Regions from separate parts of the Homo sapiens genome. Here all the other regions are linked to region 4. Evidence: promoter capture Hi-C in 16 types of primary human blood cells and fetal thymus (Javierre and others, 2016). All regions are on one chromosome and are shown on one strand. The core of a region is centred on a gene start or on the middle of the fragment in contact, and the rest is flanking DNA. Distances in the headings are between cores, read along the strand shown. Region 1 has its middle 200 kb from the start of CYRIA. Region 2 has its middle 150 kb from the start of CYRIA. Region 3 overlaps CYRIA (CYFIP related Rac1 interactor A). Region 4 holds the start of MYCN (MYCN proto-oncogene, bHLH transcription factor).

The links. The method cuts DNA at HindIII sites, captures the fragments that hold promoters and counts their contacts. A CHiCAGO score of 5 or more calls a contact.
Region 1: a contact is called between a fragment that was not itself captured here and the fragment with the promoter of MYCN in region 4, in 1 of 17 cell types (erythroblasts). The highest score is 5.4, in erythroblasts.
Region 2: a fragment that was not itself captured here is called in contact with the fragment with the promoter of MYCN in region 4 in 2 of 17 cell types (erythroblasts and megakaryocytes); the score reaches 6.0 in erythroblasts.
Region 3: a contact is called between a fragment that was not itself captured here and the fragment with the promoter of MYCN in region 4, in 1 of 17 cell types (naive CD8 T cells). The highest score is 6.6, in naive CD8 T cells.

The regions. Positions count from the first base shown.
Region 1 is chr2:16,459,894-16,463,238 of GRCh38, reverse strand. No RefSeq gene overlaps it. Among named protein-coding and RNA genes, the nearest start is that of CYRIA, 200 kb to the left of the region's middle. The HindIII fragment of the contact is 4,041 bases long and covers 1-3,345 here.
Region 2 is chr2:16,519,134-16,522,416 of GRCh38, reverse strand. No RefSeq gene overlaps it. Among named protein-coding and RNA genes, the nearest start is that of CYRIA, 150 kb to the left of the region's middle. The HindIII fragment of the contact is 533 bases long and covers 1,162-1,694 here.
Region 3 is chr2:16,625,438-16,628,635 of GRCh38, reverse strand. The region is part of intron 1 of CYRIA (CYFIP related Rac1 interactor A); the gene reads left to right. Among named protein-coding and RNA genes, the nearest start is that of CYRIA, 39 kb to the left of the region's middle. The HindIII fragment of the contact is 7,677 bases long and covers 1-3,198 here.
Region 4 is chr2:15,938,906-15,942,245 of GRCh38, reverse strand. It overlaps MYCN (MYCN proto-oncogene, bHLH transcription factor), which reads right to left and starts at 1,696. Exons shown (of 3, transcript NM_005378.6): 1 at 1,503-1,696; 2 at 1-298. The coding sequence starts at 181. It overlaps MYCNOS (MYCN opposite strand), which reads left to right and starts at 561. Exons shown (of 4, transcript NR_110230.2): 1 at 561-714; 2 at 1,149-1,272. RefSeq lists enhancers at 1,568-2,098, 3,143-3,340. The HindIII fragment of the contact is 19,196 bases long and covers 1-3,340 here.

The sequences.
Region 1 (3,345 bases), core at 641-3,140, 520 kb before region 4:
TTCATCAGTTAAGTGGGAATGGCCTCTTCCAGAAAGCAGGGAGCTGGTTCAGACAGTGGTTTGTGGGTTCTTGCTGTTCCCAGGACTGTGATGTGAACCTAGCTGGCTGGCATACCCAGCTGGTCTAACGTTATCTGAGCCTGTAATGGAGTAGCACTTTGTACTCAGCCGAGTCCATTTCTGCGTGGAGATTTCTCAGATGCAAAACAATTGCATAAGCTGCTGCTAGTTAGCTTAATTGGCACATTCAGGTTAGTCATGTAGACGAGGTTCTTTTTATATTTTGCCAATCTTTCGTAGTTTAACAGGACTGTTCCCATGTTATGAATTTCAAGTAAGTGTTTCATGGTGTGATTAGAATCTAAGTAGACTATGCTCAACAATTACCTGTGAACACGTTGACTCTTGTGCCTGATGGTGGATAAAGGGAGTTCAGAAGGCACTTCTATGCCCCCTTCATTGCCTCCTTGGAGCAAGTGGGAGACCAGATGTGCTGGGGCTGAAGCTCCATGGAGCACTTCTGGGAGGCTGGAAGCTGTGACATCCTGAGCCTGTCCAGACTCAGTTCCTTTTTCTGCCACCAGCCATCATCAGTCACCAAATGTGCTGCTTCTTTATATTCTTGGACCCTTAAACTTCTCTTTGTCTCCAGGAATATCACTTCAGGCCACTGTCTCCCTGTCTCTGTCCCAGATGATGGAAATTGACTCCTAACTCAGTCTGCTTAACCCCACCTTCACAAAGTACTAGGGTGATCTCTGGAAATGCAAATCTGAAAATCTCACTTACAGACTCTTCTTAGGTGGTTCCTCACTGCCCCTAGAATGGGCATAGAAGAATGTTTAAACAAACTTTCATGGCCTGGGCTCCAACTGCTTGTAAAACCTCATTTCTCTCCACTGCTGTCTTTCTCTTTAGACTCCAGAGACCAGTCCCCATGGGGGTCAAGGAGCCATTCAATCTGTTAGGTAGGAAGAGATTTCTTTTGGCTTCTTGGGCAGGGTTACATGGTGGGACATCTGAGGGGTTTACCTCTAGGAACTCCCCCAAGTTTTCAAAGTAAAGAAAGATCCAAAGCCAGAAAAGATCCCTGTCTACCTCTGGGGGAAAATGTGGAAGGGAAGAGGAGGAAAGTCACCATTTTGAAGTAGCCCAGAGTGGCCTCCATGACGAAGACCTGCTATCCAGAAAAAGACTCTAAAGAGCCTAATCTCAACGAGGGTGAGGCCGTTCCTCTCACTCCAGCCCCTTGGCTTCCTGCATCACCTAAAGAGGGAAACAAGCTAAGAAAATACAGTCAGTTAGGAATCTCTTGTGGATTGCTAGAGGCATGGGAGTCTAAAGGATTAAGGAAAATGCTGTCTGGAACTGGGCTCATCTGCAGGATCAAACTGTGGCTGTCCTGCAGGGGTCAGACTCCCACTTGCCTCAATGTAACCTCAGTCCTTTGTTAATTTCTAACTCAGAGCTTCTTCTATTCTACTGTGCACTTCACTAAAATGTGAAGTATCAGTATCTCGGGGTGGGGAGGGAGGACTCCTATGAGAAGAAAGGCCCCAGGGAAAAGCCTCATCCACATCAATAGCACATCCAAGGTGACTACAGGGAGGCCAGCCACAGCCTTCCTGGCTCTCACACTCACAGACACCAGTAATAGATTCTTCTCTCATAGGCAATCTATGATAGATGTAATGGCTAAGTTTATGTGTCAACTTGAGCATGCTATGGGACACCCAGATTAAACATTATTTCTGGGTTTCTCTGTGAGGATGTTTCCAGATGATTAGCATTTGGATTGGTGGATTCTGTGAAGTAGATTGCCCTCCCCAATATGGGTGGACATCATCCAATCTGTTGAGGGCCTAAATAAAACAAAAAGGAAGAGGAAGAAGGAATTCATCACTTTTTGCTTCTGGCCTTCCTGCTTGAGCTGGGACATCAGTCTCTTCCTCCTCTTAGACTGGAATTATACCACCAGCTTTCCTCAGTCTCCAGGTTGCAGATAGCAGACTGTGGGACTTCTCAGCCTCATAATTACATAAACCAAACCCTCATAATAAACCTTCTTTTATATCTATGTCTATCTATCTCTATCTATCTATCTATCTATCTATCTGTCATCTATCTCTATTACTGTATCTATATCTACCTCTCTCTGTGTGTCTGTCTCCTATTGGTTCCGTTTCTGTAGAGAAACCTGACTAACACAATAAGGGTCACTAAACAGGGGTCTAAAACCCAGAATCTATGCAGACTTTTGGCGTATGGACACATATGCAGTTTTTTGAGGTCATAAGATCTATTATGGTCTTTCAGATTTCTAAGGGTTTGTTAACCAAAAAAGGCAAAGTACCACTAAAAAGAAGCCCTTTCTTTGAAATGTGCCCTGGGAGGAATGTCCTTTAGGAAAACTATTGAAAACAAAATAAATCCATCTACTATGCCACAGAAAAGCATCTTTCATGAGATGAGATGTAAGCCAGAAACCATAAAGGAAACAACTGGTATATTTGACTATGTATAAAATCAGAAGAGTCTTCATGGCACAAACTGTGGCCTTCCCCTCAACACGTTCCACATTGCAACCACCACAGACAAGGCTGACACATGCATAATAACTTGGAAAAATCATTTGTAACATAAATGGCAGGGAAAGAATAATATCAGTAACCTACTGTAGTCCCCCTTTATCTGGCTTCACTTACCCATAGTAAAATGTGGTCTGGAAATAGGTGGGCATAGTATAATAAGATATTTTGAGAGAGATGAAGAGAGACCATATTTGTATAATTTTTATTACAGCATATTACTATACTTGTTATTTTATTATTCGTTATTATTGTTAATCTCTTACCATGCCTAGTTTATAAACTAAACTTTACCAAGGGTATGTGGTGTAAGAAAAAAACAGAATATATAAGGTCCAATACATCTGTGGTTTAAGGCATCTACTTGGGGTCCTGGAATGCACCTTCTCGGATAAGGGGGAACTACTGTCTAAAGAGCTACTGCAAACCTATCAGGAAAAATCAAATTTCTCAAAGAGAAAAAGAGGGATAAAAAATCTCAACCAGTCTAAAGTCTAAAGAAAAATGCAACTGGTCAGTAAATATAAAAAGTCATTCAACCTCACAAATCATTGAAGTTCAAAAAATATATGCATCATTTTTCATGTAAAGAATTGACAAGGATTTAAAAGGCAAGCAAAACTGATATTGACGAGTGTCTAAAGCACTTGCTCTCCACCCTGGCTGCACAATGCAGTAACCCATAGAAATTTATGAAATATTGATGCCAACATCTGCTTCTGACCATGAAGGATGAACTGTTATGGGAACTGCCCTC
Region 2 (3,283 bases), core at 179-2,678, 580 kb before region 4:
AGGCAAGAGTGGGATTTTCAAGGAAACCCTTCCTTTTGTTTGAACGAAACATGCCAGTCCTTGCAGGGCCTCGGGCCTTTGATAATATGGGTTTTGGGCCTGCTGTTCTCTGTGACCGCTCTGTGCCCTCAGCAGCCCCAGATCAGATCCTTGCTCTCCCCCAGCACAGGAAATGCAGCTGTCCCCAGCACCCACCAGAGGCAGGCCCTGGGCAGCCACCCTGTAAAATGGATGAGAGCAGGAGCCTCAGCCAACACCCAACAAACTCACAGACAGTACAGGATACTGGCATAAATAATAACAGCAATTCCTACTCTATCAAGCACCTACCGTGTGTATGGTGGAACTGCTTTGCATACGTTAGCTCTGATCTTTACAACAAAGTAGGTGGTATGATCATTCTCCCTTTCACAGAATTAAAAACTGAGGCTTGAGATGTTAACTCAAGAGTACCTGGTTATTTAGTGGCTTAATCAAATTTCAAGGCCAAACCTGTTTTATATAAAACTTCTCCTCTAACCTCAATGCTTTTACAAACAGAAGTCTTAAAGGGATTTAAAGAAAAACAAGACACCTTTAGACTGGCAGGTCAAGGAAGGCTTCATACAGGAGTGGTATCTGAGCAAGGTATGAAGAACAGGCAGTAGTATTTGGACAAAGCAAGATATATTCCAGACAGAATAAAAGTCAGGAAGTGAGAGGAGGTATCAGGAAAATGTGAGTTGAATACTGCAAGGAGTCAAGAGCCTGGTTTGACTCCCAAAGGACAGAAGTAGGGCGTGAAATGGGAGATGCCTCATGAGAGTGCAGCATGGAGGGCATCTGAGTTTTAGGTGACTGGACAGGCTTGATCAGAAGGATCATGGGGAGTCACTGAGAAACATTGAAAAGGAAAGTGCCGTGAACCTTCCTCCAGCCTCAGATGAAGAAAAGATGGCGCGGGACATCCTGGGAGGGGAGCGGGAGAAGGAAATGGCTGAGTGGGGGCAGCCCCACAGAATGCAGAAGAAAGCTCTGGAGGACTTAATGACTGATTATATGTGGGGAGAAAAGTCAGGAAAAGATCCAGAATGAATCCCAGGTCTCTGGTATGAGTGGGTGGAGTGGAGGGTCACACACTGAAACAGGAGTGAGCTGTGGACAAAAGGAGCAGATCAAGCTTTTGAACATGTAGCTTGAGTTATGTTATTTTCTGTTGCCCCAGCTGCCATGTGGATGGACTAAATCATGCTCCTCTTTGATTCCTGAAGTCTCCTAGCACAAGCCTCAGCATGTAGGATGTGCTCAGGGAAAAACACTGAATGATAGATTGGCACCATCACCCCATTCCCTGTGGCCTGATATAAATGACCCACCTAAATAGCTGGATTAGGCCAGTCTCAACATCCAGATTGTGCAGCAGCAGAAGCACCATGTCAGCCAGCAGCTAAAACCACATTCTCAGTGCAGGCAGAACCAGAGGAGCTGCTTTCTGAGATTGTCACATGGCAATGTTTTGAGTGGGAAGGGATCTGGCATCGGCAAAGGACTCTGCCTGTTGCCATCTTCTATGCAGAGATGGATCCATTCTACCAGTAGCCATCATAGCCAAAGATTTCAAAGGACCAGGAAGAAAAGCCTGCTCAGAGCAGACGCGAAGTAGAAACATCTGTTTGAGTTTTCAATCAAGCTATTTTCCCTGCACAAAGCAAGCTTGTAGGAAATTGATTATTCTATTTCCTTCTCAGAAGTGGAGACTCCAATGTCAGGGAGAATGGTTTCCTATAAGACTACGTGTCTTGGAGTACTGTAAGTTGTTTCTAGTGTCTTTGGTGATATATGCACAGAAGTCTTGAAAAACAGGATTGAGTATCTTATTATGTCCCGGTTGGACAGAGGTCTCTCATTCCATGTGGCTCTCCTGTCTTCTGTGTCTAATGGCAGATGGAGTGTGGGTTGCTCGTTGCATATGTTCTCCTTTCTGAGTGGCCATGTTTGCCTGTAAAACCCTATGTAAACCGGAGAGCAAGAACAAGTCCCAATAAGGACATATCTGTTTTGAAATTTTTTGTTTTTAGGAGTCTTGATTACTGAGAAGATGTGCTCCATTTTAAACTTGGGTGTCTCTATTTCAGAAAAGACACAATTACAAGCCTGTGATGTGAAGTTTTCCAGATGTTAATTAGGTAAGGAAAGTAATATGGTGAACCTCCAGGTATCAATCACTCAATTTCAGTATTTGCCCATTCTTGCTTCCTCTATAACTCTCCATAGACTTTCACTTGCTATGTTTCTCCCTGAATTGTGAATTGATTGTGTCAGGCAGCAAGGTACAGTAGAGTCTCAGCAGAATCACAGGGGGCTCCACTGCTGCTAGGTTAGGGGGCCTTGATGGTAAATGTCATATTTATTTTTGTACCCCTGGGCTTACACAGGACCTAGTATGCAGTTGACACTCAAAGAATGACATGACTGTTCCGCACTAGGTGTGTGATTTTGGAAACATCCTTTAATTTCTTCAGCCTTGGAGTTCTCATTTGAAAAGTATAAACAAGAAATCTGCCTGACTGAACAGTTGTAAGCATTAAATCAGACCATGTATGGAAACCGTTTAGCACGATGCTGAGTGGTAGTAAGCTCAGTCATGCTATTCCCTCTTCTTTCTCCATTACTCTTTGGCTGTTGGAGCCTAGGCCTTCTTCACCTGATCTTAGCCAAAAGGCTGAGAAGCGATACCTAGGCCTTCTTAAGACATAGGAATTCAAATGAGTAGGTAGAAAGGAAGATAAAAAGAAAGGCAGGGTTAAAGTGATGAGGAATAAAGAAGGTGGAGACAAAAGAAGAAAAGCAGAGAACAACATGGGTTTAATAGAAGGGGAACAACAAGAGAAAAGGCTCTTCTAGATATCCTGAAATCCAGCTTCATGACATATCCGTGGAAGAATGTGGCATGTCTGAAAACGTCTCTCTTGGGTCCCTTATGTCCCCTGTTAAAAGAAAGCCAAAGGGCTTGGCACTGTTTGTCCCCCAGGAAATGCCCCTTTCTCCCCTCACTCACACCCCAACCATCCAGGGTCCTTGTGTCCTTTTCTCAATTGTCCCTTCAGAACTTGCTCCCTAGAGAGCATCAGAAGAAAGCTCCAGATGGGAGTATGAAGGATGGTGGGCTTTAAAATGGCCAGGGAGGGAAAGGAGCATGTGTTCCCTTCCTTCTGGTCTGTGTGAGGTCCTGCGTATAGACCATCAGAGTATGGGGTGATGCAAACTATGGCAGAGCTCAGGTTGCTGAGAGGTCGCTGCAGAG
Region 3 (3,198 bases), core at 635-3,134, 690 kb before region 4:
AAAGGGCCCCCTTTCACTCTCAGAGGTATCCTCGTTTGGATGATAAACCATTAAATCACCCCAACTGTATGACTGTGTATATAAAAGTGGTTAGCAGCACTTAGTGTGGATGTGTAGCGTAGGGAGTATGTGGAAGTAAACGCCTGTGCCCATGTGCTCTGACAGCCCAGAAGCTGGCTGTGGGTTAGCACAGCTGCACAGTTGTGGGTAAGTCACTTAACCATTTCACAGCACACACGGCTTTGAGGTGAGATCAGGGGCCTCACAGTCCGATAAATGGTGGTTCAGATCCTTTCTCATAGCCTGCTAGCTTTGACCTTTATAGAATTACTTAGCTTTCCTCAACTGCAAATTAAGAATAATCATATGGACCTCTCAGAGTTGGTATCATTTTTACATAATCTATATACACATCTAGAATATTTCCTGACAAATCATAACCTGCCAACAAATGGTGGCTGTTGTTGTTGTTATTATTCTAGGGCTGTGACTGTTTTTGGCTTTAGCTCTTCATTGTAGAAATGGTGAGAGATGACCCCTGTCTTTCCTGGCTTCCCAGGCATCATGAGGCTGAAACCCAGTGGCATCCCCGAAGCCTGGTGTCCCGGGCATGTGTGCACTGCTGGTGCTGGGGATGCAGAAAGGGAACCGCCTGCCTGCCCGCCCAGCTGCTCCATCTCTCTGGGACATAGGAATTGGCTTTCCAAGGCATCATCCCCTCCACCCATCTCAGGCCCTGCCTTCATCCCCTCCCTGGCCCAGCCATGCTGTATAAACACCAACACCAGGATGTCATTTACTGGTGTTGCCTGACATTGGTCGGCTGCTACCCAGAGGGCACTAGGTACCAAATTCCTAATTCTGCCTGCACAGCAGCTGTCAGTCTTTCCTGCCTGGAGAGTCTCCTATCTTCCTTCTCTCCTTTTGAAGGAAGGTGTCATCTGTTCCTAGTGTATTTGCTTTATTCTCTTTCTTTCCACTATTTGGCTTTGCAGAATTTGAGCCAGACTGCTTAAGTTCACACCTTGACTCTATCACTCAAAAGCTAAATCCCATGGACAAGTGACTTAATCATTTTGTGCCTCAGTTACCTCTTCTGTAAAAGGGGACAATAATAATGCCTACCTAGTTTGGTTGCCATGAGGTTTCAGGGAGTCACTACATGTACAGTGCTAAACAAAGCCCAACACACAGTAAGTACTTGATCAGTGTTAGCTATTTTTATTATCCAAACACCTGCCCCTTCTGGTTTCTCAGTGTTGCTCTGTGCTTCTGGCATTGAGGGACTCAGTCTAAGCTCTGCTGCTGGTGAACTGTGGGCACAAGCATGCCCCACCCTGGGCTTTGGGTCCCTTGATTGCCCACCCCGGAGGGTGGGGACACAGTCTTTGGGGCCCTTTCGGCCTCCCGTAGTGGATATTGCCTTCCCTTCAGTTGTTGTGCCTTGCTTTTCTATTTCCAGAGCCATTCAGAAGGGGAAGGCAGCAGCCGTTTGAAGCTCTTCCCTAGCCCTCCCCTGAATGGGGTGGGGTGGGACAGGACATGGGGAAAGGTCGCTAGACTGGAAGACAGGAGATGCCTATTTCGGGCCCTAGTTCTGTTTTGAGACTCTGGATAAGGCACCTCCTGTCTCTGATTTCGGCTTCTCCATTTATAAACTGGGGTGATTACCCCTCAGCTTTGTACCGCTCTCAAAATGAGCAAAGATGAAAAGATATGGAAAAGCATTTCACTGGCTGCCAGGTGCTACAGAAGGGCAAACTCCTGATTGTGTTGTGTGGTGTGAAGCCCCACCAGGCCAGGCACAGGGCATAGCACTGTGGAAGTAGCCTGGGCCGCCTGTGGCTGCTTGGATGGGAGCAAATGCATGCTGGTGTTGCTGGTGATATGTGAGGTTGTGCTGCCTGTGGAGATGCGAGATGAGAGTTTTCAGTTTCTTTCCCCCCTTGCTCTCTGTTCTCCCTAATGGACACTTGGCCCCGGGGTGACTCACACAGTAAACCATCAGCAATTGCTTCAGAAGGCTTGGAGTCCTCTCAAACATATGCTGACTTTTTGTTGTTCTATGTTTGGTTTGGAGTAGTGGGGCAGATCCCTGGGAGGCCATTAGCTGTGGGACCTGGAGTGAGCCCCTGCCCTTGGCGAGCCTTTGTGGTTGCATCTGTAAGGTGGGAGAAGGTGGGGTGAGGGTGAGAGCTGAGTGGGGGTCCGTGTTAACTGAATGCTAGTCCATGGATCAGAGCCAAGTTGGTGGCACTAAAACCCTCTCAGAAGATTTTTAACCGTACAAGTTTCCTGACCGCTGCTCTGGATTGGGTCTGTATTTTTTGTGAGCTTCTTAGATGCGTAGCCAGTACAGGGGGCCCGCTGGAGTAGGGGAACCAGTATGTGATGGCTTACGGGCTCTGCATTCTCTACCCCTTGGTGCCCATCAGGGGTCTATGAATAGTATTAGCATTAGTAGAAGTGGTATTCGGTTATTAAGTTATTATTAGGGTCATCTCTGTGTGTGGTTGTTCAAGTTACCAGGTGACTGTCATTCTTTACAATGTGCATTTGGAGTTGGGGAATTTCTGTAAGCCTCAGTAAGTAAATGGAGTCAACAAAATGGACAGGAAGACAAGCAGGAGGTGTCTTAGAATGATGATCAGGAGGAAACCCGGTGTTCCGCCTGACTGACCCTCTTGGTTTTGTGGTGGAAAATAGCAGCATTTGTGCTGAACCCAGCTGAGTGAATCCATCCCAGTCATGCACACTGAAAATGGGTTCAATTCTGAGGACATTTGAGAAAAAAAAAAAAAGCAGTGAGGATGGGATAGCTCTCCCTGATACCTGATCACTTTGAGAGCTTTTCTCTTGTTTCCAGATCCTTTTGTGACACGCCTGGCCCCTCAGCCACAGTCAAAAGGTGAGGAACAGGGCCTTACCCCAGAATCCTTCTTTGGAAATTCACCACCTTCCATGTCTACACCTGAGGTGTGGAAAACATCCCTGTGCCAGGCGGTGCTTGGTGGTGGGAAGTGGAATTTGTGGACCCCAACCCTGAGTTTGGAGGAAGTAAACGTCTTTGCCCTGCCCTGTTACCATCACAATCCGGTTTCCTAAAATGCAGGGCCCAGCTCCACTAACGTCCACTCAGAAATCACTTTCTCATCAAGCCAAGGACATTTCAGAGTTGCTGTGTTTTCTCTATCATTT
Region 4 (3,340 bases), core at 447-2,946:
GCGGGGGCGTGGGCAGCAGCTCAAACTTCTTCCAGATGTCCTCCCCCGGGGGGGTCGAGTCGGGGCCGCCGAAGTAGAAGTCATCTTCGTCCGGGTAGAAGCAGGGCTGTAGCGAGTCAAACTCGAGGTCTGGGTTCTTGCAGATCATGCCCGGCATGGTGGACGTGGAGCAGCTCGGCATCGGCTCGCCTCCCGGCCGGCGACTGAGGGCTTCTTTCCGCCCCGTTCGTTTTAATACCGGGGGTGCTTCCTTCCCGTGGGGGGCGCGGAAGGCGGGGGCCGGCGCCGACCTCCAACACTGCAACCGACAGACACACCGGAGAGGGTGGGCAAACGGGGCAGACCGAGGGGATAGGCAATGGGCGCCCCCTCTAACCAGGTTCCCCAATCTTCCCTCCAAGCCCCCCACTCTGCCCACTGCTCCCGAAGGTGGAGGAAGTTGTGCCTCTCGCTCCCTCCCTCCCGCCCTCCTTTTGTGTACAAGCTGTCTACGACAGGGGGTGGGAGGGGGCATGCAGATGCAGGGGGTGGTGGCGAGGCTCCGCAACTTTGGAAACTGCCATTTCATTCACACAAGGCACTGCCTGGGGGAGGGGGCTGTTCCTGGCTGCAGAATTCTAGCTCTCACGAGCACGCAGACAACCGCACTCGCAGCGGTGTGGGGCCGGCTGCTCAGGGGAAGCCCCAGGCTCTCCGACCCAGCTACCGGGAATGGTATTTGGAGTACCTTCTACCCCCTTTGTAAAAATGCAACCTCAGGAGTGCAAATGATAGCAGGGGATTTAGAAAACTTTGCAAATAAAAAAAAGCCTTTCTCTAGACAGAGACCAACAACAGACACCCATATCCACAAATCCTTCCCCTCCCCAAATTTGAGCAAACGCCCCTCGGCATTCACCCGCTGCAGGGATACTCCTGCCAATAGCTTAATTGGAAGCTCTCTAAGCCCACCCCTGCTCTTCCAAACCCACGACAACGTCCTCTTCCAGGGAGGGAGAGGCTGAGCCCCTGTTCCCGGGAATGGCAGGGGCGCCCGCGCGAGGAGGGTCGCCGGGAGAGCCGCCTCTCCTCCAAGCTGGAGCAGCCGTGACCCAGATTGCGACCGCGGCGGCCTCGCCCTGCCTAATCCCCCCCTCTTCTTCCTCCAGGGGCACCCTTTGGAGAAGAACCCCAGCCTGGGGTGGGGACGCACCGGCTCTCCGACAGCTCAAACACAGACAGATCTTCTAGAGCCGAGGGAATTTCTTTTCGCAGAAGCCATTACTCCCCCCGGTAAGGGCTGCAAAAGGATTAGGGCGGGTCTCCTCTAGCCAGGATGCCTTCGGGGCTGGAACTGGCTTTTCTGGGAAAACCCAGAGATGGTTTTGTTTCGGAAGCAGAAACAGTCCCCCGGGCATATTAGGGCGCCCGGTGCGCACGTCGCAATCCCGTCCAGGGCTTGCCTTGCCCCGGCGCTCGTCGCTTCCCTGGGCGCCGGGCGGTTTGCAAGCCCTGCTCCTTACCTCCCGCCGACTGCAGGGGATCCGGAGGCGATTCTGCGCGGGTGTCTCCGGGTGGGCCGGGGGGGCGGGGGTGTCCTCGGATGGCTACAGTCTGTGCGCGCTTGCGCCTGGCTAGCGCTTGCTCGGCTCCAACACAGTTCCCAGGAGCCCCCCGCATCCACCCAGCGCGTCCAGACAGATGACTGTCACAGCCTGCGCTTTGAAGCTCGGGGGATATTATTAACTGAAAAATCTGACACACCCGGGGGGCGGGGAGAGAAGGGGGCTGTGGCGCAGACAAGGGGGAGGGAGAAAGGAGAGGAAAGCGGCTTTACCCCGCCCTCCTGATTTCCATAAAAATCAGGGGAGGCGCCAAGGCTTTCGCGCCAAAAGCCACTTGCTTTTCTTTGCAGAGAGAAGGCTGCAAAGCTGGGAAGCCCAGGGTGTGCTCCTCCCGCCCTTTTGGACCCCCGGGCTTGCACCGGCTGCACTCTGAGAACCAGCTGCGCGCGGAGCGGTGCAATGCAGCACCCACCCTGCGAGCCTGGCAATTGCTTGTCATTAAAAGAAAAAAAAATTACGGAGGGCTCCGGGGGTGTGTGTTGGGGAGGGGAGACCGATGCTTCTAACCCAGCCCCCGCTTTGACTGCGTGTTGTGCAGCTGAGCGCGAGGCCAACGTTGAGCAAGGCCTTGCAGGGAGGTTGCTCCTGTGTAATTACGAAAGAAGGCTAGTCCGAAGGTGCAAAATAGCAGGGAGAGGACGCGCCCCCTTAGGAACAAGACCTCTGGATGTTTCCAGTTTCAAATTGAAAGAAGAGGGGCGCCCCCCTTGTTTGAAAATAAATAAATAAATAAGTGCGAGCTACGAGGGTGGCGCCGCGGTGGTTTCTTCGGCCGAAGGCGACACCTCGCGGAGACTGAGCAGAAAGCGGAGCTGCCCGGCCTTGGCGCGGACCTGGAGTGCGGCCACTCCGCAGGTCTCCCGCCGCCCCCGCGGGACTGTCCACGCGTCCTCACCACTGCGGAGGAGGAGGCGGCCTGGCTCTGCTTCCTAGGGGGAATGGGCGTACGTTCCCTGCAGCCGTCCCCAGGGCTCCCAAGTTAACCTTTTCAAAGCCACCATTCTCCCCAGTTATGGGCAGGCGAATCTGATTTACCGAGATGGAAGTGCTGTCCACACCTCCTGAGACCCAGCCTCGGCTCAAACAGCTTGATTCCAAACTGTTGAAGGGAAAAAGGAAAGCTGCTGTCACTACTTCGTTTCTTTGTGCCTCAGTTTCCTCAATTGTGAAATGGAGTTCGTAGTGCCTCCTACCTGAGAGTTATGAAAGCTCTTATAAGTCCCCAGCCCATAATAGTTGTGTCAGCTATTATTATGATGATGACCACGACATGCTATTCTTCTGGGGAAAATAACACCCCTCTGTCCAGCAGCAGCATTGGCCCCTTCCCTTCCCGCCACCATCAAATCCTGGCTTTACTTCACTCTGGTCTAGCTTTTCTTACAGGTGTATTTGTTTGCAGGGGGTCAGACATTATTGCCCCTGCCCTCCAAACTCTCCAAAAACAACCCTGATCTCCTGGACAGCCCCCTTCACAACCAAATACACAGTGAGGTGGGATTTTGCCTTGAAAAACATTCCTTAGGCTTGTTTGGAGAGAGGGGAACCTGGCCCTGGGATTGGGGTGGGAAGGCTTCCCCGCCTCTCCCTACTTTTTTCTCCAAACTGGAAATGCCATTCTCCATCGCCCCCACCTCTTCACCTCACCATTGGATCTAGTTAAGGAGGAGGATGCTGAGGGTCAGGGGGCAACCCATAAAATGCTCACAGATTAGCATTTGTGAAGGCCTTTCCAG